7 separate regions of the Homo sapiens genome follow, and regions 2, 3, 4, 5, 6 and 7 are each linked to region 1. The links are contacts of gene promoters, found by promoter capture Hi-C in blood cells and fetal thymus (Javierre and others, 2016). All regions are on one chromosome and are shown on one strand. The core of a region is centred on a gene start or on the middle of the fragment in contact, and the rest is flanking DNA. Distances in the headings are between cores, read along the strand shown.

The links. Contacts are between HindIII fragments. The CHiCAGO score rates a contact against its expected background, and 5 or more counts as called.
Region 2: a fragment that was not itself captured here is called in contact with the fragment with the promoter of HOMER2 in region 1 in 16 of 17 cell types (total B cells, naive B cells, erythroblasts and 13 more); the score reaches 11.8 in total B cells.
Region 3: a contact is called between a fragment that was not itself captured here and the fragment with the promoter of HOMER2 in region 1, in 10 of 17 cell types (non-activated CD4 T cells, naive CD4 T cells, naive B cells and 7 more). The highest score is 9.1, in non-activated CD4 T cells.
Region 4: a fragment that was not itself captured here is called in contact with the fragment with the promoter of HOMER2 in region 1 in 14 of 17 cell types (total CD8 T cells, activated CD4 T cells, erythroblasts and 11 more); the score reaches 10.3 in total CD8 T cells.
Region 5: a fragment that was not itself captured here is called in contact with the fragment with the promoter of HOMER2 in region 1 in 3 of 17 cell types (total CD8 T cells, activated CD4 T cells and total CD4 T cells); the score reaches 5.7 in total CD8 T cells.
Region 6: a contact is called between a fragment that was not itself captured here and the fragment with the promoter of HOMER2 in region 1, in 8 of 17 cell types (naive CD8 T cells, total CD8 T cells, activated CD4 T cells and 5 more). The highest score is 8.8, in naive CD8 T cells.
Region 7: a fragment that was not itself captured here is called in contact with the fragment with the promoter of HOMER2 in region 1 in 1 of 17 cell types (total CD8 T cells); the score reaches 5.1 in total CD8 T cells.

Annotation. Positions count from the first base shown.
Region 1 is chr15:82,951,148-82,954,632 of GRCh38, forward strand. HOMER2 (homer scaffold protein 2) reads right to left here and starts at 1,573. Exons shown (of 9, transcript NM_004839.4): 1 at 1,384-1,573. The coding sequence starts at 1,388. RefSeq lists an enhancer at 823-1,323. The HindIII fragment of the contact is 1,453 bases long and covers 759-2,211 here.
Region 2 is chr15:82,548,833-82,552,317 of GRCh38, forward strand. CPEB1 (cytoplasmic polyadenylation element binding protein 1) reads right to left here. Exons shown (of 13, transcript NM_001365242.1): 10 at 628-826. Among named protein-coding and RNA genes, the nearest start is that of RPS17, 10 kb to the left of the region's middle. The HindIII fragment of the contact is 1,847 bases long and covers 598-2,444 here.
Region 3 is chr15:82,565,049-82,568,533 of GRCh38, forward strand. The region is part of intron 4 of CPEB1 (cytoplasmic polyadenylation element binding protein 1); the gene reads right to left. Among named protein-coding and RNA genes, the nearest start is that of RPS17, 26 kb to the left of the region's middle. The HindIII fragment of the contact is 428 bases long and covers 1,740-2,167 here.
Region 4 is chr15:82,582,726-82,586,210 of GRCh38, forward strand. All of the region lies in intron 3 of CPEB1 (cytoplasmic polyadenylation element binding protein 1), which reads right to left. Among named protein-coding and RNA genes, the nearest start is that of RPS17, 44 kb to the left of the region's middle. The HindIII fragment of the contact is 1,699 bases long and covers 928-2,626 here.
Region 5 is chr15:82,610,992-82,614,476 of GRCh38, forward strand. All of the region lies in intron 3 of CPEB1 (cytoplasmic polyadenylation element binding protein 1), which reads right to left. Among named protein-coding and RNA genes, the nearest start is that of CPEB1, 35 kb to the right of the region's middle. The HindIII fragment of the contact is 1,016 bases long and covers 1,116-2,131 here.
Region 6 is chr15:82,629,122-82,632,606 of GRCh38, forward strand. All of the region lies in intron 1 of CPEB1 (cytoplasmic polyadenylation element binding protein 1), which reads right to left. Among named protein-coding and RNA genes, the nearest start is that of CPEB1, 16 kb to the right of the region's middle. The HindIII fragment of the contact is 7,050 bases long and covers 1-3,485 here.
Region 7 is chr15:82,649,691-82,653,175 of GRCh38, forward strand. It overlaps CPEB1-AS1 (CPEB1 antisense RNA 1), which reads left to right. Exons shown (of 4, transcript NR_046096.1): 2 at 81-251; 3 at 339-456. Among named protein-coding and RNA genes, the nearest start is that of CPEB1-AS1, 3.7 kb to the left of the region's middle. The HindIII fragment of the contact is 480 bases long and covers 1,536-2,015 here.

The DNA of each region.
Region 1 (3,485 bases), core at 323-2,822:
ACTTGGGTGCCTCTGGGTAAAATCACCCACAGTTGCTGTTCATGTGAAATCTCCTAAATGTAAGCACACTTCTTCAGCCCTCGCTGCTCATCTCGCCTCCTCCTCTCTGTCACCCACCTCTGTCATGTCCAGTTCATGTTGGCCCACAGCCCTCACACTTCCATTCCTCAAAATTCCTCTTGGCCTGCCTCTGATCCCCTCACACACTCTGCAGCTCCCATGGCTAAGACTCACCAGGCAAAATGACTCCAGAAACTTAACCTGGAGTACGGTGCAAGAAAGCCACTGACCCAGGGGGGCTGAGCCAGGGCACCAGGACAATCTTGCTCCTTCCACTGCACTCTTGCCTTCCCAGGCCCCACCCATCCCAAACAGGAAAGCAAGATCTCTAGACCCTTGGAGCAGAAGCATTTGAGTCCTGCGAAGGGCTGTTGGAAGAATGCTGGGTTCAGCAGCAGGGAACAGAGAGATTTAGGAATTCTGGTTCACTTACCCGCCTCCATGCCCACGTCAGGCAGTGGCAAGGCCACCCCTGCTACACAAATGCTCATCAACTACACAGCCTGGGGGAAGTCACCGAACCACTTTGTGCCTCAGTTTCCTCATCTGTAAAGTGGACATAAGTGTCCCCTGAATACGTATGGCAAACCGTCAACGTGTGCCCAAATAGAGTGAGCAGATGTAAGGAGTTATTGTGCTATTAGCACAGTGGCTCCCAGACTCACAGAGCCTACTGCTCAGAGAGACGCCGAGGGGAAAGCTTAAATTACTTTATATACTCAGAAGCATTAGTCACTTCGACAGAGTATTTCAACTTCCCTCCTGAGCATCTACTCAGTTGTTTCAAAGACTGAAGCCTCACCTAGGTTCCTTATAGACTTCCATCATCTTCAGCATCTCAAAGCAGATCCAAAGTCCACTATTCCTACGCTGGAGGTTTATTATTATTTGATTATTTCCAGGAAAACTTCGATTTCCATTTTGCTTGTAATAAATCCAAACGTGGAGAACGACAAACTGCTTAGACTCACACAGGCCCTGGAGTTGACTGCGCCCAGGGGCGAAGAGACCGCGGAATGGCCGAGGCAGGAGGCCGGCCAGGGCACCGGTCCCCGTCAGGTGCCCCCGTGCCCGGGCTGTATGGGAGGGGAAGGGCCACGGGCTCCGCGCCCAGGCCAGGGTGCCCCTGCTGGGTGTCCGCGTGCCCCGGCGGAGGGCGCGGGTCAGGTGGCCCCAGACTCCCGGGCGCAGAGTGTGCGCTCGCTCCGGCTTGGGGAGGCGGGGGCCGGCCCGCCGGGAGGCTCCGAGCCCGGTTACGCCAGCCGCGGCCCCGCAGTCCCTCCGGAGGGGCGCGCGGAGAGCGCGCGGCGCGGGCTCACTCACCCCATCTCCGGCGCTGCTCCGGCGGCCGCTCCGACGGGGCCTCTCGCGCTCGCTCTCCGCCCGCTCGGCAGCCGCTCCCCGCGCGGCACATGCGGCGGCCCGTGCGCGCCCGGCTCAGCCCCGGCGCCGCTCCATTCCGCGGGGCTGCGCGGCTGCCACTGCTGCCACTGCCGCCACCGCCGCCAGGCGCGGGCGGGCGGGGGCTGGGCGGCCGCGCTGGGGCGGTGCCCGCCCCGCCCTCCCCAGCCGCTACCCCCGCCCGGCTCCTTACGTAACCTCGTGGCCCCCGGGCCGCGGCAGCGAGCCAAGAGGCGGGGGGCGCAGCACTGTGTGCACCGTCCCCCGCGCAGCCGCGCAGTCGCCGCTTTTCTCCCGGGCCACCCAGTCCTCGGTGCCGGCCCCGCGTTGGCGCGCCCCCGCCCCACGCCGACCCGGGGCCCTGGCGCAGTGCCATCAACATCCTGCCTGATGGACTTAAAGTCCCATTCACACCTGGCGGGGACTTTAGGGCTACCTTTACTTTGCAGATAAGGGAACCGAGGCCTGGGGAGGGTAAGTGATTTGCCCAAGGTCACACATTCAGATTAGAGTTCGTTCGGGTCTCCAGAGTCTGAGATGGGCATAGCTGTGCTCCTCCTTAAAGCCCACCTTCATCTTCCTGCCAGTTGCCCGGCCGAGTGGCCTTAAGGTACCCGCCACCGTGAAATTTCGGAAGCCAGCCTGGCAGAGAAGAGCCTACAGGCCGCGGCAGATGCTCTGGGCTCTTTCCTGGATAAAAATGAGATGAGGGCTCCCACTTGAAGGGGCAGTTTTAAGGCGGCTTCATCAAGCTTGGTTTTATCCTTAGAGCGAGGGGAATTAGGATGGCAAAAGTAGAACTTGAAGAAGAGCAGGCTCTCTTCGTCGCCTTTCTACCTATCAGGTCCTGAGTTTCTACCAAAGGCTGGCACTGGGACTAACCTAACCTTCATCCCCCGGGACTTCCACGGGATCATCTTCTGCTGGGAACACACCGCCCACATAAGCCTGGCATCTCAGGACAGTAAAAAAGTCAAGGGACAGGTCGGGCGCGGTGGCTCACGCCTGTAATCCCAGCACTTTGGGAGGCCGAGGCGGGCGAATCACGAGGTCTGGAGATCGAGGCCATCCTGGCTAACACGGTGAAACCCCGTCTCTACTAAAAATACACACACACAAAAAAAATTAGCCGGGCGTGGAGACAGGCGCCTGTAGTCCCAGCTACTCCGGAGGCTGACGCACAAGAATCGCGTGAACCTGGAAGGCGGATCTTGTAGTGAGCCGAGATCGCACCACTGCACTCCAGCCTGGGCAACAGAGCGAGACTCCGTCTCAAAAAATAAATAAATTAATTAATTAAATACATAAATAGCCGGGTGTGGTGGCGTGCTCCTGTAGTCCCAGCTACTCCCAGCTACTCGGGAGGCTTGATGCAGGAGAATCGCTTGAACCCAGGAGGCAGGGGTTGCAGCGAGCCGAGATCATGCCACTGCACTCTAGCCTGGTGAAAAGAGCCAGACTGTCTCAAAAAAATAAATAAATAAATACAAAATAAGTTTGTAAAAAATAAAATAATCTTGGGAGTTTCCAAATCCTCCATGCATAGTAATCAGCAATATCAGGAAAGTGAGCTTGTAGAACACTGAACAAGTCATTTATCAGGTAATACCTGAGGATTCTGAAGTGTTCGAATAACTTCAAAGGCAAGCCACTGAAATCAGAGTTTTTCATTTTTATTTTATTTTTATTATTTTTTTTTTGAGACGGAGTCTCACTCTGCTCACCCAGGCTAGAGTGCAGTGGCAGTGGCGTGATCTCGGCTCACTGCAACCCCCACCTCCCAGATTCAAGCGATTCTACTGCCTCAGCCTCCCCAGTAGCTGCGACTGCAGGCGCATGCCACCACGCCCAGTTTTTTTTTTTTTTTGTATTTTTAGTAGAGACAGGGTTTCACCATGTTTCGATCTCCTGACCTCGTGATCCACCCGCCTCGGCCTCCCAAAGGGCTGGGACTACAGGCATGAGCCACCGTGCCTGGCCGAGTTTTTCATTTTTTTAAACTACAATCCACAGTAAGAAATATA
Region 2 (3,485 bases), core at 271-2,770, 400 kb before region 1:
GGAGGTGGGTTAGCCACATGTTAATCACAGAGGTCAGGCTCTGCTCCACCTCCATACCTCATCATTGACATTTTGCCAGGACTGGCGAATTGACCTCCTTTCTCAGAGGAGCTGATCAAAACCTAGTGGTTAGGCCCACAGACTTCTGAGTTAGGAAAGCACAGGCCACACTCTGTTGCCTGACTCACTCAGAAAGTCCTCCTCCAGCCTGACCTGGTCTCTGACCTTAGACAATGCCAGAGCTTTTCAAGAACTTTTAATAAAAAACTCCAGGCAAGTTCAGAGAATTGCAGCCTTTTCATGAAATAGTACCTGTTGTCTGTTCCAAACTGGTTTCGCTGTGAACTCTGAGCTTCCAACAAAGTTCCTACCTCACTCTCACTTCTTATCACCTCCTGTAGTCTCCAATAGCTTTTTCTCCCACTGCGTGGGAGATGGTGGGTAGAGGGCTAGATACAGAAGGGCCAGTACTCGTGACTTGTCTAGAAAAAGATATTATGGTGCTGGTATATGCTGATCTGCAGACCTGGGTCAGGCCTCTCTCCTCACTCCCATGGGGAAGTATCACAATCTTGGTCTACTCCCAGGGGCCAACCAAGCTTTCGCACACAGAAGTGGGACACTTACCAATGGGATACTTGTGCTTATCTGTGTCAATCCCGGCATACACCACTCCACCAAATAGGTCGTTCAAGATGGCTGCCAGGGCCTCAGCATTTAGCATTCCATGCAGAGCACCGACAAACACCGTCCTGCTGGGGTCAAGCCTCTGAGATGGGCTCCGGACAAAGTTACTGTCGGCTAATACCCAGGGGATCACCTGCACCTGAAAACCACCCAAAGGTGTATCAGCCCTGGCAGAGAGCCACAGAGAGAGAGGTGCTTGCACGGCAAGGTACGTGCTCTGGAGATACTGAAGCTAAGCTAACGCCCTTACAGGGGTGAAAAGGTGCTGTTGCCCAATCTCAGGCACACAGGCGTCCAATAAACCACCCTGACTCCACCCCAACTGGAGTTGAATTTTACTGAGTCCATGTGTCCAGAATGGTAGAAGTGGACACAGTACTCACTCATGCTGGAGAGTAAGCAAAAAAGTACCACATGGCCAAACCCAGGAGCCCAGCATTCTATTTCAACCTCCAACTGTGTAGTTCCAACAAAGGGCTGTGGACACTGATGAAAAGGGCATAATCTGAAGTCCTCAAGAAAGGAAGGACTCACAGAGAAATTAAAGGCTAGGATCCTGAAGGACAGAGGGGTGGGAGTGCTTACGATATTTGTATGAGATGGTTACTGGCCCAACCTAGCCTTCAGAGGGTTTGTGCCAGAGCAGTGGAAATGACTGGCGAGAGGTTGGGTAGAAAGTCACATACAAGATCCCTGGAGTCTTAAAGGGCTGGGGCTGACCATGTCCTTTGCCTCTGAATCTCCTGAACCTGGAACAAAACCTTGTAGAGCAGGTGGAGGAGTCCAGAATGAAGTGAAGATCTAAAAATATGTCTTGAAGCAGGAAGAGATCTGAGGCAGAAACCAGCAAGGAGGCAAAAACAGTAGTTTCAAAGGACAGGTGATTAAGACTTGGACAAGGCTGGTGGCAACGAGCAGAGAACAGGCCAAGACCAAAGAGATTCTTCAACAGAAGAGTCTGCAGTACTCAGACAGCATAAGCAGGATGGGCAAGCAAGGAAGAATCAGGCCTGGTAGGTGCTGGGCCTACACGGTCTTGGGATGAGAGGACCTGGCAGAAGTTACAAGAGGGGAGCCAATTTCACTGGAAGATGAAAAAGCCAATTTTGCCCACAAAAGAGTTTGGGATTACAGGACATCCCGAAGAAGGATCCCACAGGAAGGTGAGGCTCAGGTAGGACATGAGGCTAGAAAGGTGAATCTGGGTCTAAAGGTGAGAGAAGCCACAAAGTGAGTCATTTATCTGAACTAGAAAAGAAGAAGGGAGTCAAAGATTGGCTATATTGGCTATGTTGGTGCTGGCGGGGAGAGGAACACAAAGGAAAAAGAAAAGTAGAGAGGAAGGAGAACTGCATCAGCCTATAGCCAGTGAATCAAAGAAAGATTAAATCCCTGTAAGGTGATGGGAGGGAATGGGAGACAGGATGGTGTCTACAGGGGCACTGAGGAGGAAGGGGAAGGGCTCTGTGATATGCATATGGCCATCTCTGGTTGTGAAAGCAGGAGGGGAGGAAAAAGGAGCATGTTAATTAAGTCCTAGAACATACTAAGGTGGGAAGACTACACAAGCTCCAGAGAATAAAGAAGCAGAGAAGGTAGGGAAGCTGTGGGTCACTGTGGGCAGCCAGAGGATGAGCCTGCCCTCTCTCTAACACAGAACAAGAGCCAGCTTTGTTACATGGATTTATTTTAAATCTAATGTGACCATCCCAATAAAATAGGCATTTCTCCTCTTACCCTATAGATTTTTTTAGAGAAGCTTTAAGGTTTACAGTAAATCTGAGCAGAAAGTACAGGGATTCTCCAAATACTCTCTGCCCCCACACTTGCGTGACTTCCCCACTATCAGGATCCCGCATGAGAGTGGAACATTTTTTTATACTGACCCATCATCCCCACCGAAAGTCCATGGTTTGCATCAGAGTTCACTCCTGGTGTTTCTTTTACCTTCTATGGGTTTGGACCAAAGTATAATGACATGTATCCACCATATACAGAATAGTTTCACTGCCCTAAAAATCCTCTGTGCTATGTCTCTTCATCCCTTCCTGCTAAACCCCTGGCAACCACTGATCTTTTTTACTAAAATAGGCATTTTAGTTTCCCATCTTATAGAAGAGAAGAGGAAACAAAGTTTCAGAGATATTAAATATCTAGTCCAATGTCACAAAAGTTGTGTGCTCTCAAATCCGATTTTACCACCGCACTGATTCCTGAGCTCAAAACTTGCTTTGACAAGTGGTTCTCAAACACTACCCACTAGAACCACCTGGGGATCTTTATTCAGTTGGAGATTCCTAAATTCCACCCAGAGTGATTCAGTAAGTCTGGGATAAGGCCCAAGAATGTGCAATGAGATCCCCAGGTGAGATAAACTCGTTAGAGACCCATGCTGCCAAGGATACATAAGGCTGATATTAGAAAAAGCGTAGGAAGAGAGAATCTTATGGGGAAAACCCACAAAACTAAATAAAGCCCTGAATAAGAATGAAGAAGTGACCCACAGGTGGGTGTGGGCTAAAGAGGAATTCACCCCCACAGACTGGGAGGTCACAAGGCACAGGAAGGGCAGGACCAGGGAAAAACAGCTGTAGGTTTATCAGTTAAGTCCAAGTAGAGAAGTTTGCTGTTCTCAATTTCATTTCTAAGACAAGAGGTTTGAAACCAAAGTGTTGGCTACAAGAAAGAAGAGCAGAATAAAGACGGGCAGACAGTTTGATTACCATGGGCAGGCATGCGCATGTGTGCATGCACACACCCCATTAAGTCCCAAAGGTTGCTTTTTTTTTTTTTTAATG
Region 3 (3,485 bases), core at 704-3,203, 390 kb before region 1:
GCAAATATTAAATCAGAAGGGATATACTGTAAATTTGACTAGAAGATACCAAGAAGACAAGAGGCCTAGAACTTGCCAGCTGGTTTGATATTTCCTTCAACCCACAGAACAAGTGAATTTTGTGGAAACTGCCACCCATGGTCAGATGCCCTAGAGTGACCTAATTGTACCTCTATAGGGTCTGGCCAGGCAGTTCTCTGAGTGTCTACAGATCAAAGGAAGGAAAGCAGCAAAGACAATGGAAAGAAAGCAGCAAAGCAGCAAAGACAAAGGGAAGTGGGGGGACCTCATTTCAAGAAAGAAAACCTGTCTTGCTCCCAGCTCATGAGACCATACCTGCCCTATGTAAGGTTGCTGAGTACGCAGCACCGATTTCCACCAGCTGGGAATCAGAAGGAAAGGAGCAAAATAGCTAGCGTTAGACTGTTCCCATTTATATTCAAAGCCACGAGCATACCTAACTGGAAAGGCATTCTCTTTAAGCCACACAAACTAAAATCCAGTGGAAATGACAGGTCCCTTATAATGCAGGCCAGTGTCTCATCTCAAAGTCCACTCCCCATCATGGGGCACACAACTTCATAATTCCAAATGTCAAGTATTAACCTAGATGGATTAGAGGAGGGGGAGGGGTGGTGAGAAGTCCTAGAGTCAATCTCCAATAACGGCCAAGGCCCTGACCTCTTTGCTCTGTTCTTTCCTGGCCTCCAGAACACAAGGGATCATGGAAAGTCTGAGGTTTACCAAGTGCCTCCAGCTCTGGTGTCCAAGTGTCCAGCAAATTCCTATCTTCTAAAAATGGGTAAGACATTGTGCTCTTCCTAGAACAGACGTACCCATCCCCATTCACATGCTGGCAGGAAATCAGCTACAGACATCTCTCAGGGAAGTCATGGGGAGGAGAGGACCTGGCAGAGGGTTCCAGTTCATTAATGCTACCTCAGAGGGTATAAGAGACCAAATCAGCAGTGATATTTTTAGACTGATTGTTAATTTTCTCTACTTTCACCCTTCTATGCCAGCTCCTGTCGGTTTTACAGCTGAGTCACTGTTCAAATTTTCGGAAGCCTTCCCCAAGAGTACAAAGGCACCTGGAGTGTGATGGCAGCATTAGCAATGGCAACAAGAGCCTGGCACTGAATGCCTGCATTATAAGACCATCTGAGCTTGAGCTTAGCTGAAGGAGAGACTAGCCCCAAGACATGATGGTCAGATATTTGTTATCTAATGGGAATAGTCTAATGGGGGAAAAAATCTAACGGGGAAAATCCAGACCAGGAGCCATTATTTCTAGCCTGTGATATAAGGCCGTATACCTGGAACCCTTCTTCCCTATCACCATCCTTGGTTCTAGGTTGCTTACTCAGGATCTCTCTGAAGGAATAGGAAGGGGGGAGAGTAGCATTCATTCCATGTATGAAAACAGACCACTCTGCCTGTGACCCCAAATCTGCAACTCTATACCATATCTCTACTGTGGCGGTAAACAGAGTGTGGACTTCCCCCCGACTGTGGATCCCACAAGTTCAAGTTAGTGACAAACACAGCCCTTCTCCCCAGTATAACTCCCAGTCTTGATCATCAGGCAAGTTCCATTACCTGTAGAAAAGACATATTCATGTCCCTTGTAAGGTCAGCACACATCCTGCCCCTGTCACTAACCACCTCAACTTCTTTCTCACCTAGGAGGCCTCCCTGGCCACACTGCTTCCCAGGTTCTCCCTCCTCTCTGCACTGAAAGCTTTCCCAAATAGACTACTTGACTCCACAATACAGCTCATGCTCCACTGTATGATGAAAACTTTGTATAATTACATCACCGTCCCCTAGAAGCTACAGGGCCCAAGATACTGATCTTTGAAGAATCTGTCCATCCAGCTAAATCAACACAAGCAGGAGGCAGAAGAATGGGAGAGACCTTGTCTGAACTCTGCAGTTAAAAAACAACCAGGATAAACACAGTGGCTCAGCACTCATCATTCATTCAAAAAATATGTATTAGACAGCCATTAGCCAAGCACTGTTGTACTGCTGGGAATATAGTATTGGAGAACTGGGAGTTGAGGAAGATTTACAAGAGACCTGGTTGGGCCGAGGAAGTCCATGTTCCACATAAGAGAGACCTAATCCCGTTCTGAATGTCGCCTCAGAATGGTTGTTTGGAAGAAGCTTCAGATGAAAATTGCTTAAGACTCCCCACTCATCTTAGGCTGATGTAGCCTGCAGATCAATGGGGAGCCTGCAAGTGACACAGCACAGGGAACATTCCATTCACTGATTAGCAGTTAGGGTAGAAAACCAGAGTGTGGGCCAGGCACGGTGGCTCACATCTGTAATCCCAGCATTTTGGGAGTCCGAGGCGGGTGGATCACAAGGTCAGGAGTTCAAGACCCACCTGGCCAAGATGGTGAAACCCCGTCTCTACTTTAAAAAAAAAAATTAGCTCGGTGTGGTGGTGGGCACCTCTAATCCCAGCTACTCAGGAGGCTGAGGCAGAGGATTGCTTGAACCCGGGAGGCAGAGGTTGCAGTGAGCCAAGATCGCACCACTGTACTCCAGCTTGGTCGACAGAGTGAGACTCCATCTCAAAAAAAAAAAGAAAAGAAAAGAAAACCAGAGTGTGAACAGGTTAGTCCTCAAGAGACTTCTAAAGGGGAGTGGCAAAAAACAGACATGTCCTCTGGCAACCTTAGACTGCACATCTGGTCTGCCCACTGGGCTTCTGTACAAGGCATCATTAAGAGAGTCCTTGTTTCCAGGTCCCCCACAGTAGTCTCAGTCACCTCACTCTTCTGCTGCATAATGCTGCACACAAAAGAGTCGCAAGGGGGAAGGCAGGAAGACAAATCCAGCGGGTGGTACAGCTGATAAGCTGAGACTCAGGGATCAAGATGGGGCTGGAACTGTCTACCATATGCCCTCACCTTCAGAGATCTCATCAAGGGAGCACATCACCTCTAGCTGAATAGCCCCTATAGTAGTATATGGTTACTTTAAGTTTTCTCACCCAATATGTTAGAGTTCTGCTAACAGGACCACAGGTGTAACAGGAAGCATATGAATTTTGTAACCAGAGACCTGGGTTAGAATTCTGAGCCTTCCAGGAGTTGTGTCACTTTGGGCACTTTGTAACCTCCATGAGCCTATTTCCTCATCTGTACAAGCATTAAAATCATGTGATGTACTTAGCACAAAAATTAGTCGATAAATGGTGGTTATTAGTCACTCCATGCCCCATTCCAGGATACTGAGGACAGTTTCCACAGCCCTTCTGTTCCACTACAGATCTTAAGACATTGCAAGCAGGACAAGGGTAGCCCTGGACATGAGAAAGGGTAGCACTGGGGTATGAGAAAAACGCACTTATAACACTCATCTTGCCCCCAAAGTCTTCCTCCCCATCAAGGGATAGTGCCTCAGGGTAGGCACAGTCTAGAAGAGAAGGACCCCACAAAGTGTTACATCCAAGCCCATGCAGGCCTTGC
Region 4 (3,485 bases), core at 527-3,026, 370 kb before region 1:
TACTAGGAGTTCTTTTTTTTTTTTTTTTTTTTTTGAGACACAGTCTCACTCTGTTGCCCCGGCTGGAGTGCAGTGGCGTGATCTGGACTCACCGCAAGCTCCGCCTCCCGGGTTCACGCCATTCTCCTGCCTCAGCCTCCCTGAGTAGCTCGGACAACAGACACTGGCCACCACGACAGCTAATTTTTTGTATTTTTAGTAGAGATGGGGTTTCATCATGTTAACCAGGATGGTCTTGATCTCCTGACCTTGTGATCCGCCCGCCTCAGCCTCCCAAAGTGCTGTAGGAGTTTAATTCTTAACACTAACTCCCTCACCCTCCCCACTACTCTCTCCACAATCTGCTACTTATTCAGCAGAAAGTCAATTTCACATTCGGGTGTTTCTAAGATTTCGCTGCTATGTGCATATATTATTTTCAAAGGCGATAATTTTACTTCTTACCCATGGAGAGCAAAAAAGACGACTGCTGATTCAAGGCTAGCATCATCCAATCTACTGCTTATGGTATGGGGGAGTTCTGAAGCACGCCATCCTGAAGACTCTGGTTCAGAGTCCTTGAATACAACATGCCATCTAGGTTGTAGGTAACAACTAGTTTTAGTAAAACTAGTATAACCAAAACACAATGAAACATTACTTTACCTGACACTACACTGTTCAAATTGGGGTCTGCAGAAGTTCCTTAAACAGTACATCAAATTGGAGACCCTTTACAGTGCCAATCACGACTGCATCTACATAATATAAAAGCCAGTTATTTAAAACAGGAAGGCAGGGTATTTCCATATAGAGGGTAAATTGGTACAACATTCTGGAGAGCAATCTGACAAAAACATTGAAAGCTTCAAAAGATTTATTCTTTGATAAAGAAATACTACTTTTAGAAATTTATCCTATGTCCAAATAATCACAGATGCAGGCAAAAGCTTTAACTTCAGGTACTTCTTATAAGTGTATAAAATAGGCACCTATTTAAACAAACTCCAAAATACGAAAACTGAATGCCAGAGGTTAACCTTTTTTGTATCATGAACCATTTGGCAGTCTGCTAAAACCAATAAACCTTCTAAGAAAAATGTTTCAAAACATATAAAATAGTAATAATATTGAAATAGTAAATAAATGTCAAGGTATGTACAATGCCTGTAAAGGAATCAATATGAATTGTCTGATCATCCTATTGATACCAAATTATTAGGTCCTGCTAATATTGTGACTTGTTGCCTAAACTTACAGTTAAAAGAAATGCAGCTGGGCTTGGTGGCTCACACCTGTAATCCCAGCACTTTGGGAGGTCGAGGCAGGTGGATCACAAGGTCAGGAGACAGAAACCATCCTGGCTAACAATGTGAAACCCAGTCTCTATTAAAAATACAAAAAATTAGCCAGGCATGGCGGTGGGCGCCTGCAGTCCCAGCTACTCAGGAAGCTGAGGCAGGAGAATGGCATGAACCCGGCAGGCAGAGCTTGCAGTGAGTGGAGATCGCACCACTGCACTCCAGCCTGGGTGACACAGCGAGACTCCGTCTCAAAAAAAAAAAAAAAAAAAAAAAAAGCTACGTTTCAGTTAAACATCACTGAACGTGAAGATACAAGTTTTTACCTGTCTAAATTATTGGACCCCCTGAATTCTATCCATGTACCCAGGTTAAGAATCCCATAATGCAGGCTGGGTGCGGTGGCTCACACCTGTAATCCCAGCACTTTGGGAGGCAAAGGTAGGTGGATCACTTGAGGTCAGGAGTTCAAGACCAGCCTGGCCAACATGGTGAAACCCCATCTCTACTAAAAATACAAAAATTAGCCAGGCGTGGTGGTGGGCACCTGTAATCTCAGCTACTCTAGAGGCTGAGGCAGGAGAATCGCTTGAACCTGGGAGGAGGAGGTTACAGTGAGCCAAGATCACGCCACTGCACTCCAGCCTGGGCAAGACAGAGCGAGACTCCATCAAAAAAAAAAAAAAAAAAATCCCATAATGCATCTATCTACACAGTAAAATGCTATGTAGCCTTGAAAAGGGATATAAAAAATTAACACAAAGATAAAAGAGGCAAATAGTGTGTTCAAAATATTTAATATACACGTTTGAAAAAAAAAACTGGAGAGATACACCAAAATGTTAACAATAGTTATTTCTCAGTAGTAAGATGACATAATTTTTTTTTCCTAATTTGCTTTTTTTTTTTTTTTTTTTACAGTGAACACATTGTAACAAGAAAAAAAATGCAAGCTATTAAACTGGGTAAGGTGACAACATCCCCTAAATAAACTTGAGTAGTTTTTGCAGATAAAAGCCCATATTAGATTTCAAATTTGACATCAGGAGTTCAATGACAAAATGATATTAGGATCATAAATTTAAATAAGCCACAAAACATTAAAAATAAGAGTGACTTTGGAGGGCATTTAGCGGAAGCCCTTTATTTCACAGTAGGAAGACCCTCCCCCCAGTACTAATTCCAGAAGCCTTAAGTGCTGATCTCTGCATAGTTCCCTCTACCCCCATAAATGTACTCATTTATTCTCCAGACAAAATGATGCAACATATCTACGTTTGGAAACTAGACCACATTCTCCAAAGTGGAAGTAATACAGACTGTGATCAAGACACAACCAACAGTTAAGCTTTCAGCGGCAAAGTCTGGACATTCCAGCAGATGGGGGTGGTACCATGCAGAATAAGACTTTCAAAATTTAAATGAAACATCACATTCTCACTTTTCAAGGGAGAAAAAGAGCAGAAAACTTATTTTTGAAGTCCAGGAAGAACTAGGCAACTTACAACTATCACCACATTCCTCAAAACAACCCCATGGAGAAGACAGGCATTATATCCCTTTTACAAGCATTAAAGCCATGGCACAAAACAGGTGAAGCAATTTGACCAAGCTAAGCACTCATCTCATTCAAAACCCGAGCCCTTCCCCCACCATGCCCTTTATACAATTATATTGTAAAATTCCATTTTGTTTTTTAAAATAGCATGCAAGTAATAAGTAAAAGATGATCACTTTCACATCTCGGCAGCGTTCCTTGTCCTCAATCCTACTCTCTTCTCTGAATGAACAGTTTGAGATATTCCTTTTGTACCATTTCCTATGCATTTGTGAACACTGTTACCAACACTGGTACTATTCAACTTTAAGTTCTGCCAATATGATAGGTTAAAAAATACACTACTTAATAAATGAGAATCTTGAGTGTCAGGCACTAGCTAGGCAACCAGGATATAAGTGAAGAAAAAAAAAAAAGTTACAGCTCTTGTCTTTTTGGGTTTACTATTGTAGTGGTAGAGAAAAACCTGATAATGGTGTAAGTGATAAAGTATAATTGTGAGCAAGGTGCTAGGAAGGAAACAGACATCAGGATACAAAAGTATGTAAGGTGGTTTCTGGCCTAATAGGGGAACAGTAGTTAGAATTTCCTTGGGTAAGTATGCCTTTCAGATATTTGTTAACCTCATTTGGAATGTTAATCTAATT
Region 5 (3,485 bases), core at 374-2,873, 340 kb before region 1:
AAAAAGAAAAAAAAATCCTCAACTTGATAAAGGGCTCCTACAAAAACACCCACATCTAACATCATATTTAATGGTGAATGAAGTCTGCTCTCTTCACTTCTATTCAAAACTGTACTGAAGATTTTAGCCAGCACAATTAGGAAGGAAAATGAAACAAAAGGCATCTAGATGGAAAAAAAAGTAAAACTATCTTTATAGATGATACACCCAGAAGGCATGATCTTAGATGTAAAAAATCCTAAGAAATCACACACACAAAAATCCATGTACAAAAACCAGCTCTATTTCTATACACTAGCAATGAACAATCTGAAAATAAAATTAACAGTTTGACTTACAATAGCATGAAAAATAAATATACTTATGAATAAATTGCAAGACTTGGACACTGAAAACTGTAAGAAATCACTGAAATAAATTAAAACAAAAAAAATCCCCAATTCATGCATTAGAAGACTTAATATTGTTAAGATGGCAATAGTAGGCCAGGCACAGTGGCTCATGCTTATAATCTCAACGCTTTGGGAGGCTGAGGCAGGAGGACCCTTTGAGACCAGGAGTTCAAGACCAGCCTGGCCAACATAGCAAGACCCCATCTCTACAAAAAAATAAAAATAAAAATTAGCCAGCAGCCACGGTGGCACACACCTGCAGTCCCTGATACTCAAGAGGCTGAGGCAGGAAGATCACTTGAGCCCAAGAAATCACGTCTCAAAAAAAAGAAAACCCCAAAAAACAAAAACACGATGATCTAATAATTTTCATCTCAATAAGTTTAAAAAAAACACACAGTAAATCAAACCCAAAGAAAACAATAGGAAAAAAAATAAATGACACATAAAAGAAATGTATAACAGAATCGGGGGAGGGAGGGATCAAAGCCAAAAGTTTATTTTAAAAAAAAGATTAGTAACACAGACAAAAAAAAGCAAACGTAATGTTAAGAAATACTGGAAATTTTGTAATCCCAGCACTTTGGGAAGCCGAGGTGGGCAGATCATGAGGTCAGGAGATCGAGACCATCCTGGCTAACACGGTGAAACCCTGTCTCCACTAAAAAAAAATACAAAAAAATAAGATAAAATAAAAACTGGAAATTCTAAAACATCAGAAGAAGCTTTTACATAAACATTTATGCCAATGAATTTGAAAATTTAAATGAAACAGAGAAATTCCTAGAAAAACACAACTTAGCAAAACTTAGAAGACGGAATAGAAATTTGAGCCAGGTGCGGTGGCTCATGCCTATAATCCCAGCACTTTGGAAAGCTGAGGCGGGTGGATTGCCTGAGGTCAGGAGTTCGAGACCAGCCTGCCTAACATGGTGAAACCCCATCTCTACTAAAAATACAAAAATTAGCCAGCCATGGTGGAGCACCCCTGTAGTCCCAGCTACTTGGGAGGCTGAGGCAGGAGAATCGCTTGAGCCCGGGAGGCAGAGGTTGTAGTGAGCTGAGATCACACTATTGCATTCCAGCCTGGGTAACAGAGCGAGAGTCTGTCCAAAAAAAAAAAAACAAAAAAAAAAACACAGAAATTTGAATAATTGTATTTTAAAAACTGGGTCAGGCAAGGTGGCTCACACCTGTAATCCCAGCACTTTGGGAGTCCAAGGCGGGTGGGTCATGAGGTCAGAAGTTCAAGATCAGCCTGGCCAAGATGGTGAAACCCCATCTCTATTAAAAATACAAAAATTAGCTGGGCAGGTGGCAGGCGCCTGTAATCCCAGCTACTCAGGAGGCTGAGGCAGGAGAATCGCTTGAACCTGGGGGGCGGAGGTTGCAGTAAGCCAAGACTGCACCACTGCACTCCAGCCTGGGCAACATAGTGAGACTCTGTCTCAAAAAAAAGAACAAACAAACAAACAAACAAACAAAACAAACAAACAAAAAACTGAATCCACATTTTAAAAACTGTTCCTCAAAAAAACAAAAACAAACAAAAACACACTCCAGGCCCAAGTGGCTTCAGCAATGAATTATATCAAAATTTAAGGAAGACTATTATAAATTTCACACAAGCTCTTCTCAAGAACAGCGAGGAAAAAAAAAAACTTTTCAAGAAGCTAATGATTTGCTTCAAGAAGCTAACGACTCTGACACCAGGGATATTTTAAGGAAAGAAAATTACAAGCTTATCTCTTATGTGCATGAATACAAAAATCCTGAAGACAACATTTACAAATGAAATCCAAACAATATACTAAATAAAATATATTATGAACAACTTGAGTTAATTCCAGGAATGCGAAGTTGGCTTTACTTTGGTATTCTTTCCTGAATGTTATTCCTACATCTATAGAATAAAGGAGAAAGGTTAAATGAATAGATGCAGAAAAGCTGATATAATTTAATAACATTCATGATTTTATGTTTGTTTTCTTGGGGGTTTTTTTGTTTTGTTTTGTTTTTTTGGAGACAGTGTCTGGCTGTGTCACCCAGGCTGGAGTGCAGCGGCACGATCTTGGCTCACTGCAATCTCCACCTCCTGAGCTCAAGCGATCCTCCCACCTCAGCCCCAAGTAACTGGGACTACAGGTACGTGCCACCACACCCGGCTTTTCATACTTTTGTACAGATGGGGTTTCACTACATTGCCCAGGCTGGTCTCTAACCACCTCAACCTCCCCAAGTGCTGGGATTATAGACATGAGCCACTGCATCCTGCAGATTTTCTTTTTTTAAAAGCCTCTTGGCAAAGTCTGAAAAGAACTTTCTTAATCAGATAAAAAACATTCACAACTTCAGCATATTTAAAGGAGAAATGCTAAGAAGTTCACTCACAACCCCTCCCCTAAGACTGGAAACAAGCTCCCCCCGGGGAGAGAGACACTCACCCTGGATGGGAGCCTGGAACTCTACCACCCCGCCCCGCTCCCCCCTCAATGCCCCCCTGGGACAGCCCGGGAGGCTGCCAGGAAGGGACTGGCCTCCTTGGGAGGCTCCCAGGATCCTCTTCAGCCTCGCTGCTTCTGAGTCCCTGCCGGCAAGCCTCCGCCAAGCAGTGGCCTTGCTGATGCCTGGGGAAGCCCACCGGGAGAGAGACACACACCCTGGGTGGGACCCTGGGGCTCTAAGACTCCCTACCCTGGGACGGCCCCAGGGGCTGCTGGAAAGGGACTGGCCTCCTCGGGAGGCTCCCAGCGTCCTCTTCGTCACTCCTAACCACATAAAAATATGGGTCTTGCTCCCAGGCTGGAGTGCAGCAGCATTATCACAGCTCACTGAAGCCTCGAACTCCTGGGCTCAAGTGACCCTCTCACCTTAACCTCCCAAAGTGCTGGGATTACAGGCACGAGCCACTGCACCCAGCTGTAATATTCTATTTCTTGACCTGGGTAGTGGTTATGTGGGTGTCTGCTGTATAACTGATTAAAATATACAGGTGTTTTATGCAAGTTTCCATATATTCTATGTTTAACAATTTGGAAAAGTCCATCAAACTAGTCCAAGAATTAAACAAAACACAATGATAATCTAAGTAAT
Region 6 (3,485 bases), core at 258-2,757, 320 kb before region 1:
TGTTTAAAAATTTTCATTCTGCCATTTATTGGCTGTGTGATATCACAGTTACTTAACCTCTATCCCTCAGTTTCCCCATTTGTGAAATGGAAAAAGGATACCAACTTTTTGATGACATATGTAAAGCATTTTGCATGGCATACAGTAGCTGCTAATTTGTATCTGCAAACACTAATTATTGAATACAAGAGAGGTAAGTACCAACAGTGGTAAAACCACCCAAACTGATTAAGTTATACAACTCTATGTGGTCATTATTAGTACATACAACTTTATTAACTGGCATGAGAAGATGGGTAAGACATTACCGAATGAAAAAAGAACTCCTATATATATATATAAAAAATCATGAACCCTTACACAAAAACTATTCTTTTGGTATTCCCTATCTCGGTAAATAACACCACCATCCACCAGATGCCCAAAGCAGAAATGTAGGTACCATTCTTCACTCCGGTCTCCCTCACTCTCCACAGCCAATGCCCAACATAAGAAGCAATGAAATATTGGTTGACAGATTGAGTTTTTTAAGGGGAGCCTGCCTCATCAGTTCTATTATCCTCAATTATCTTGCGGAAAACAAAAACAGACCAAGTAATGAAACTGGCACTTAATATCTCATAAGCTGGTCACATCAAAACAAAACAAGAAGAGGCCCAATGTCATTTTGTTTGGCCTACTAAAATCCAAGTGAGCATGAGAATGACCAAGAGCATTTACAGTTTTACCAACTCTGCAGGATGACCTTAAAGGGACAAACTTGAGCCTCACGTCAGCCTCAAGTTCTTGAAGATTGGTACCCTCTGCAAACTGTGAAGACGACCAAAATACACAATCCTACAAGGTTGTTTTCCCAAGCTCTCTAGAGTGGTGCCATTGAGAACTGTTAAATCCAGTGACACACAAGGCCCTTTTCACAACTGTAGATTTCTAAGCTGATTCTCAATTTCAGGAAGGCAACTTCATGAAGGCTAAGATGCAAAGATTTATAACCTGCAGAGAGGAGGTCTCGCTGTGTTGCCCAGGCTGAACTTGAAACTCCTGGGCTCAAGTGCTCCTCCCACCTTGGCCTCCTGAGTAGCTGAGACTACAGGCACGTGCCATTGCCTAGCACAATCTGCATTATCTTAAGGCTACATGCTTCATTCTTCACTGCCTAATAAACATTAGCCGACTGCCTGCTCTCTATAGTGAGCACCCCAAGGGGCAGCAGATTAGACACAGACTAAACCAAAATAAAGTTTTGAAGTCTGGAAAAGAACTTTTGGCAGGCAGGAGCTCAAAACCAGCCTGGGCAACATGGCGAAACCCTGTTTCTACAAAAAATACAAAACATTAGACAGGTATGGTGGTACATGCCTGTAGTCCCAGCTACTCAGGAAGCTGAGGTAGGAGGAATGCTTGAACCCAGGAGGCAGAGGTTGCAGTGAGCAGAGATTGTGCCACCACACTCCAGCATGGGTGACAGAGCAAGACCCTGTCTCAAAAAAAAAAAGAAAGAAAAAGAACTAAGACCCGATCCTGTAAACATCCACAACACAGACTACAACGTGCTGTAAATGTACATTGTCCTCCAAGCCAAGGTGGCCTGGAGGGACAGAATGTGCCTGGAAATGGGGGTAAAGAGGAAGTTCTAAAGAACACAAGAGAGTAGAGAGGCATTATCAAAAGTGGTCCAGTGTGGTACAGCATTAGGTATAGGAGAGAAAATTGGAAAAGCCTCATATGCCAAATTAAGGAGTCAGCATTGTCTTTCAATACACAAAATTGTGTCTTTTCAATACACAAAAATTAACCTAGCTTTTAATTACTGTAATAAAAGTACTATATATATATGGACTACATGGATTCCAGATCCTGGCCACATCTAAAGGCAAGTAAATAACAAAGTGAGTCTTAGAAGGAGACCACCAGCAACTACATGACAGATAAGTGGCAGAAGGATTAGTGAGAAAGTACCACAGTAGTCTAGGGAACAGATGCAGACTTGGGAGTCTGGGAGAAAGGTATTCCTTAGGAGAGGAAGGAAATCTTACTATTTCAAGGAGTCTGAAAAAAAAATCTAATTTAGGAATGTGTCTGGTCACCCTGCCCCACTCCTAATCCTGTTAGGAACATACACACCTTCCCAAATCAAGGCAAATGATATCTGACATGCCTCCCTCCCCTTCTCTCACATACATCAAGCCAGAGCTCTAGCTTAAGATGACATTATAATAAAAGTGAATGAGGTGTTCAATGTATATTCCAAACTGTTTCATCTTATAATTACCAATGTTTGCCTTAACCAATTTGGAAGGAAAAAAAAAAAATCAAAGCCAGGACTGTCAGATGGCGAACAGATCTACTACTCTCCTTTGTGTACAATAGGGATAAAAGTAATACTATCTCATAAGGCTTTTTGTGAATTAATGCACATAAAGTACTTAGCATAGGGCCTGACATGTAATTATGTGCTGAACCAACGAATACTGTCTATCAGTCGTATCATTATTATTATTCAGAGGCCACCACAGGGATCCTTGAGGAAGGATCTATTGGCTCATTAAGTGAACCAAAGACCTATGGCAACTATTTCTCTGAAGACTCCAGGCCCTTCTATTCCTGGTACCCCCTAACTCTTCCTCTTAATCATTTGACTTAAAATGCTTAATTAAAAGGCAAGAGATATGATTCAAATAGACCTAAGGGCTGAATCCACTACAGGTTCAGTATCTCTCATCAGAAATGCTGAGATGACCAAGAAGTGTTTCAGATTTGGATTTTTTTTTTTTTGGAAGCTGGAACATTTGCATATACATAATGACCTATCTTAGGGATAGGGCCCAAGTCTAAACACAGAATTCATTTATTTTTTTCTCTTTTTTTTTTTTTTTTTGAGACGGAGTCTCGTTCTGTCGCCCAGGCTGGAGTGCAATGGTGTGATCTCGGCTCACTGCAAGCTCCGCCTCCCGGGTTCACAGGATTCTCTCGCCTCAGCCTCTGGAGTAGCTGGGACTACATACGCCCGCCACCACGCCCGGCTCATTTTTTTGTATTTTTAGTAGAGATGGGGTTTCACCACATTAGTCAGGATGGTCTTGATCTCCTGACCTCATGATCCGCCCACCTTGGCCTCCCAAAGTGCTGGGATTACAGGCGTGAGCCACTGCGCCCAGCCAAATTCATTTATTTTTTATATATACTTCATACACATAGCCTGAAGTTAATTTTATACAATATTTTTAGTAATTCTGTACATGAAATTAAATTTTGACTGTGTTTTAACTGTCACCCATCATGAATTCAGGTGTCTAATTTCTACTTGTGACATACTGGTGTTCCAAAAGTTTCAGATTTTGGAGCATTTCAGATTAGGGCTGCTCGACATGTGTACTGTGTATATTCACACACACACACACACATTTTTTAAGAGATGGGGTCTTGTTCTGTCCCCTAGGTTGGAGCACAGTGCTGCAATCACAGCTCACTGCAGCCTTGATCTC
Region 7 (3,485 bases), core at 526-3,025, 300 kb before region 1:
GCATGTCCAGGGGCCCCATGCAGCTCACCGGCTGCCAGTTTGTGATCCCTGACATCGTTTCCTCCTCTCTGACCCAAAAGCTGAGCAAGATAAGAACCTGAAACCCAGAATAGTGCCCAAGGGAGCGGGTGTCTGGAGGCCCTGTCATATTTCAAAACTGTCAACCATAAGAAAATGAAGGCATCTTTCAAGAGACTTGGAACAGAAACTTCTGCTGCCTAAAATCTCTCTCCCTAAACTTTCTGTTGCAGGTAATAATAATAGCTCGTCTTCACTGACCACTTACTGTGCGCGTGGGAAAGTTTTGAGTGCTTTACCTATGTTATCTCATTTTGCAGATGAGACTGAAGCTCAAAGAAGTTAAGTAACTTGCCAAAAGACTCCCAGCTAAAAGTGTGAGAGCAAAGACTCAAACCAAGGCAGTCTTCTGGTTTCAGAGCCTGAAGTCTTAACCAGGTGAGAATAAAACTTCCAGCATGCTTATGTGTGTGCTTATCTGTGAATGACCCCAGAGCTGACTGCAGATGTTGAGAGAAGAGGTAACTTTGACCAAATGCAGTCATGACCTCAGGTGTGGGCAAGTCCTTGTTCCCTACCTGGACTTGGCTAGGCCTGCAGGTCATACAGGAAGAACAGTCCCTCTGAAGGTGACCATAATCCACAGGGCAGGGTGTGGAAAGTGACAGAGGTGAATTTATTAAATGACTTGGTCAAGTCCCCACAGCTGGTCACTGGCAGAAGCAGCAGAAACAAATAGGCAGCATTATCTATTCTCCCAGTCAACAAACAGCCTTTGAGCCCAGCTATGCCTGGCACTGTCTCTGCAGTCAAGCCCCAGACTTACAATACTGATTTTAAGTCCAACTATATAATTAGCTGGACTACATTTTAAATATGTGTACTAGGGAAACAGGAGGGACCCTATAGTCTTTTATATGCTCAAGTGTTCAGTGCTTCTGCAGGAGGCAGAGAGCTAAAAGAAGAGAGAAGTTTGATGGGAGAAAATAATTTCCTGGTTGCAAAAGATAAGAAAAGGAATTCACTCAGGAACTCAAGACCACAAGGTAGACACACACAGTCTCTGCTCAAGTTTTGCCAAGCTCTGTACAGAAGAAACCATGTTCTTTGTTTTTTCAAGTTCCTTTTAAGTGGGATAAAAAAGTGGATTGGGGCCAGGCGCGGTGGCTCATGCCTGTAATCCCAGCACTTTGGGAGGCCTAGGCAGGCAGATCATGAGGTCAGGAGATCGAGACCATCCTGGCTAACATGGTGAAACCCCGTCTCTACTAAAAATACACACAAAAAATTAGCTGGGCATGGTGGTGGGCGCCTGTGGTCCCAGCTACTTGGGAGGCTGAGGCAGGAGAATGGCATGAACCCAGGAGGCGGAGCTTGCAGTGATCCGAGATCTCACCACTGCACTACATCCTGGGTGACAGAGCGAGACTCCATCTCAAAAAAAAAAAAAAAAGAAAGAGTGGATTGGCCCCACCTTTCATCGTACACAAAAGTAAGTTAAAAATACAATTCTGAAAAGCTTTACTTAGAATTTTTTCAGAAGAAAATATAGGAGAATTTTTTTTTACCTCAGCCCGTGGATGAATTTTGTAAACTTGGAAAAATAAGATTGGAACAATAAGCACAGGATATAAAGGAAGACAATACATTTGACCACACTGGAATTAAAAACTTTGGTTTACTAAAAGAGTTTGTTTGTTTGTTTTGAGGTGGAGTCTTGCTCTGTCGCCCAGGCTGGAGTGCAGTGGCACGATCTCGGCTCACTGCAATCTCAGCCTCCCGGGTTCAAGCAATTCTTCTGCCTCAGCCTCCAGAGTAGCTGGGATTACAGACACCTGCCACCGCACCCGGCTAATTTTTGTATTTTTAGTGGAGACGGGGTTTCACCATGTTGCCCAGGCTGGTCTCGAACTCCTGACCTCGTGATCCGCCCGCCTCGGCCTCCCAAAGTGTTGGGATTAGGCGTGAGCCACCGCCCAGCTAAAGATATTGTTTAAAGCTTGAAAAGACAAGCCATAGACTGGAAGAAGGTATCTCCAATCCATGTATTTACAAAGAACTAGTTTCCAGACTATGTAAGAAGTTCTGTAATCAATGAGGAAAAAACACAACTCCACAGAAAAATGGGCAAAAGATGAGAATGGGCAGTTGACACAAGTGAAAATCCAAATGGCCAAGAAACATCAGTAGATGCCCACCCTCATCAGTAACCAGGGAAATGCAAATGAAACCACAATCAGATGCCGTGCCACACTTTTCAAATGGAAAAAAATGATCAACTTTCACTGTCCCAGTAGCAGGATCACTGCTAGTGAGGGCGTAAACTGATTCAGCTACTTTGGTGTGTGCTTTTATGTTTCATATCTTTTAATGGAGAGAAGGCAATGCATAGAGTGCACAAATCTTTTTTATTTATTTATTTATTTATTTATTTATTTTGAGATGGAGTCTCGCTCTGTCGCCCAGGCTGGAGTGCAGTGGCGAGATCTCGGCTCATTGAAAGCTCTGCCTCCTGGGTTCATGCCATTCTCCTGCCTCAGCCTCCTGAGTAGCTGGGACTACAGGCGCCCGCCACCACGCCCGGCTAATTTTTTGTATTTTTAGTAGAGACGGGGTTTCACCCTGTTAGCCAGGATGGTCTGGATCTCTTGACCTTGTGATCCACCTGTCTTGGCCTCCCAAAGTGCTGGGATTACAGGCGTGAGCCACCACGCCCGGCCACAGTACACAAATCTTAAGTGTATACCGAGGTAACCACCACCCGCATGGAGGCATAGAATCTCTCCAGAACCCCCACTGGGTTCCTTCCTGCCCCTTCCCACTTTATACCTCCCTCCTCAAGGTACCGTTACCTTACTGCTTTTCATTACAGATTCATTTAACCTGTTCTAGACTTCATATAATTTTTGGTTTCTTTCATTCAACATACCTGTTAGATCCATCCATGTTGTTGGCATGTAGGAGTAGTTTGTTCCTTTGTATTGCTAAGTAGTATTCCATTGTGTAGATACACCATAATTTATTTCTGCATTCTCCTATTGATTGGAATTTGAATTCTTTCCACTTCGGGGACTATTATGAATAAAGCTGCTAGAAATATTATTGATGTGAAGTATAGCAACTCTGGTGAGCAATTTGGATTCTCTAGTTAACTTGAAAAAGTGTATACTCTATGACCCAGCAATTCCATTCCTAGGAAAATATGTTAGAGAAACTTTCATACGTGTTAAGAAACATGAGTAAAAATGTCTGTAGCTGTTTTGTTAATAGTTACAAAAACAAAACAAAATAAAATAATCTTAAATGCCCACCAACAGGAGAGTGGATCAATAAATTATGGTATAGTCATACAATGGAATTCTATATATAAGTAAAAGTAAATGAAATACAGCAGATCACATCAACATGACTTACAAACAATATTGAGTGAAAAAGCAGGATGTAGGAGAAAACATACTCTCAGATGC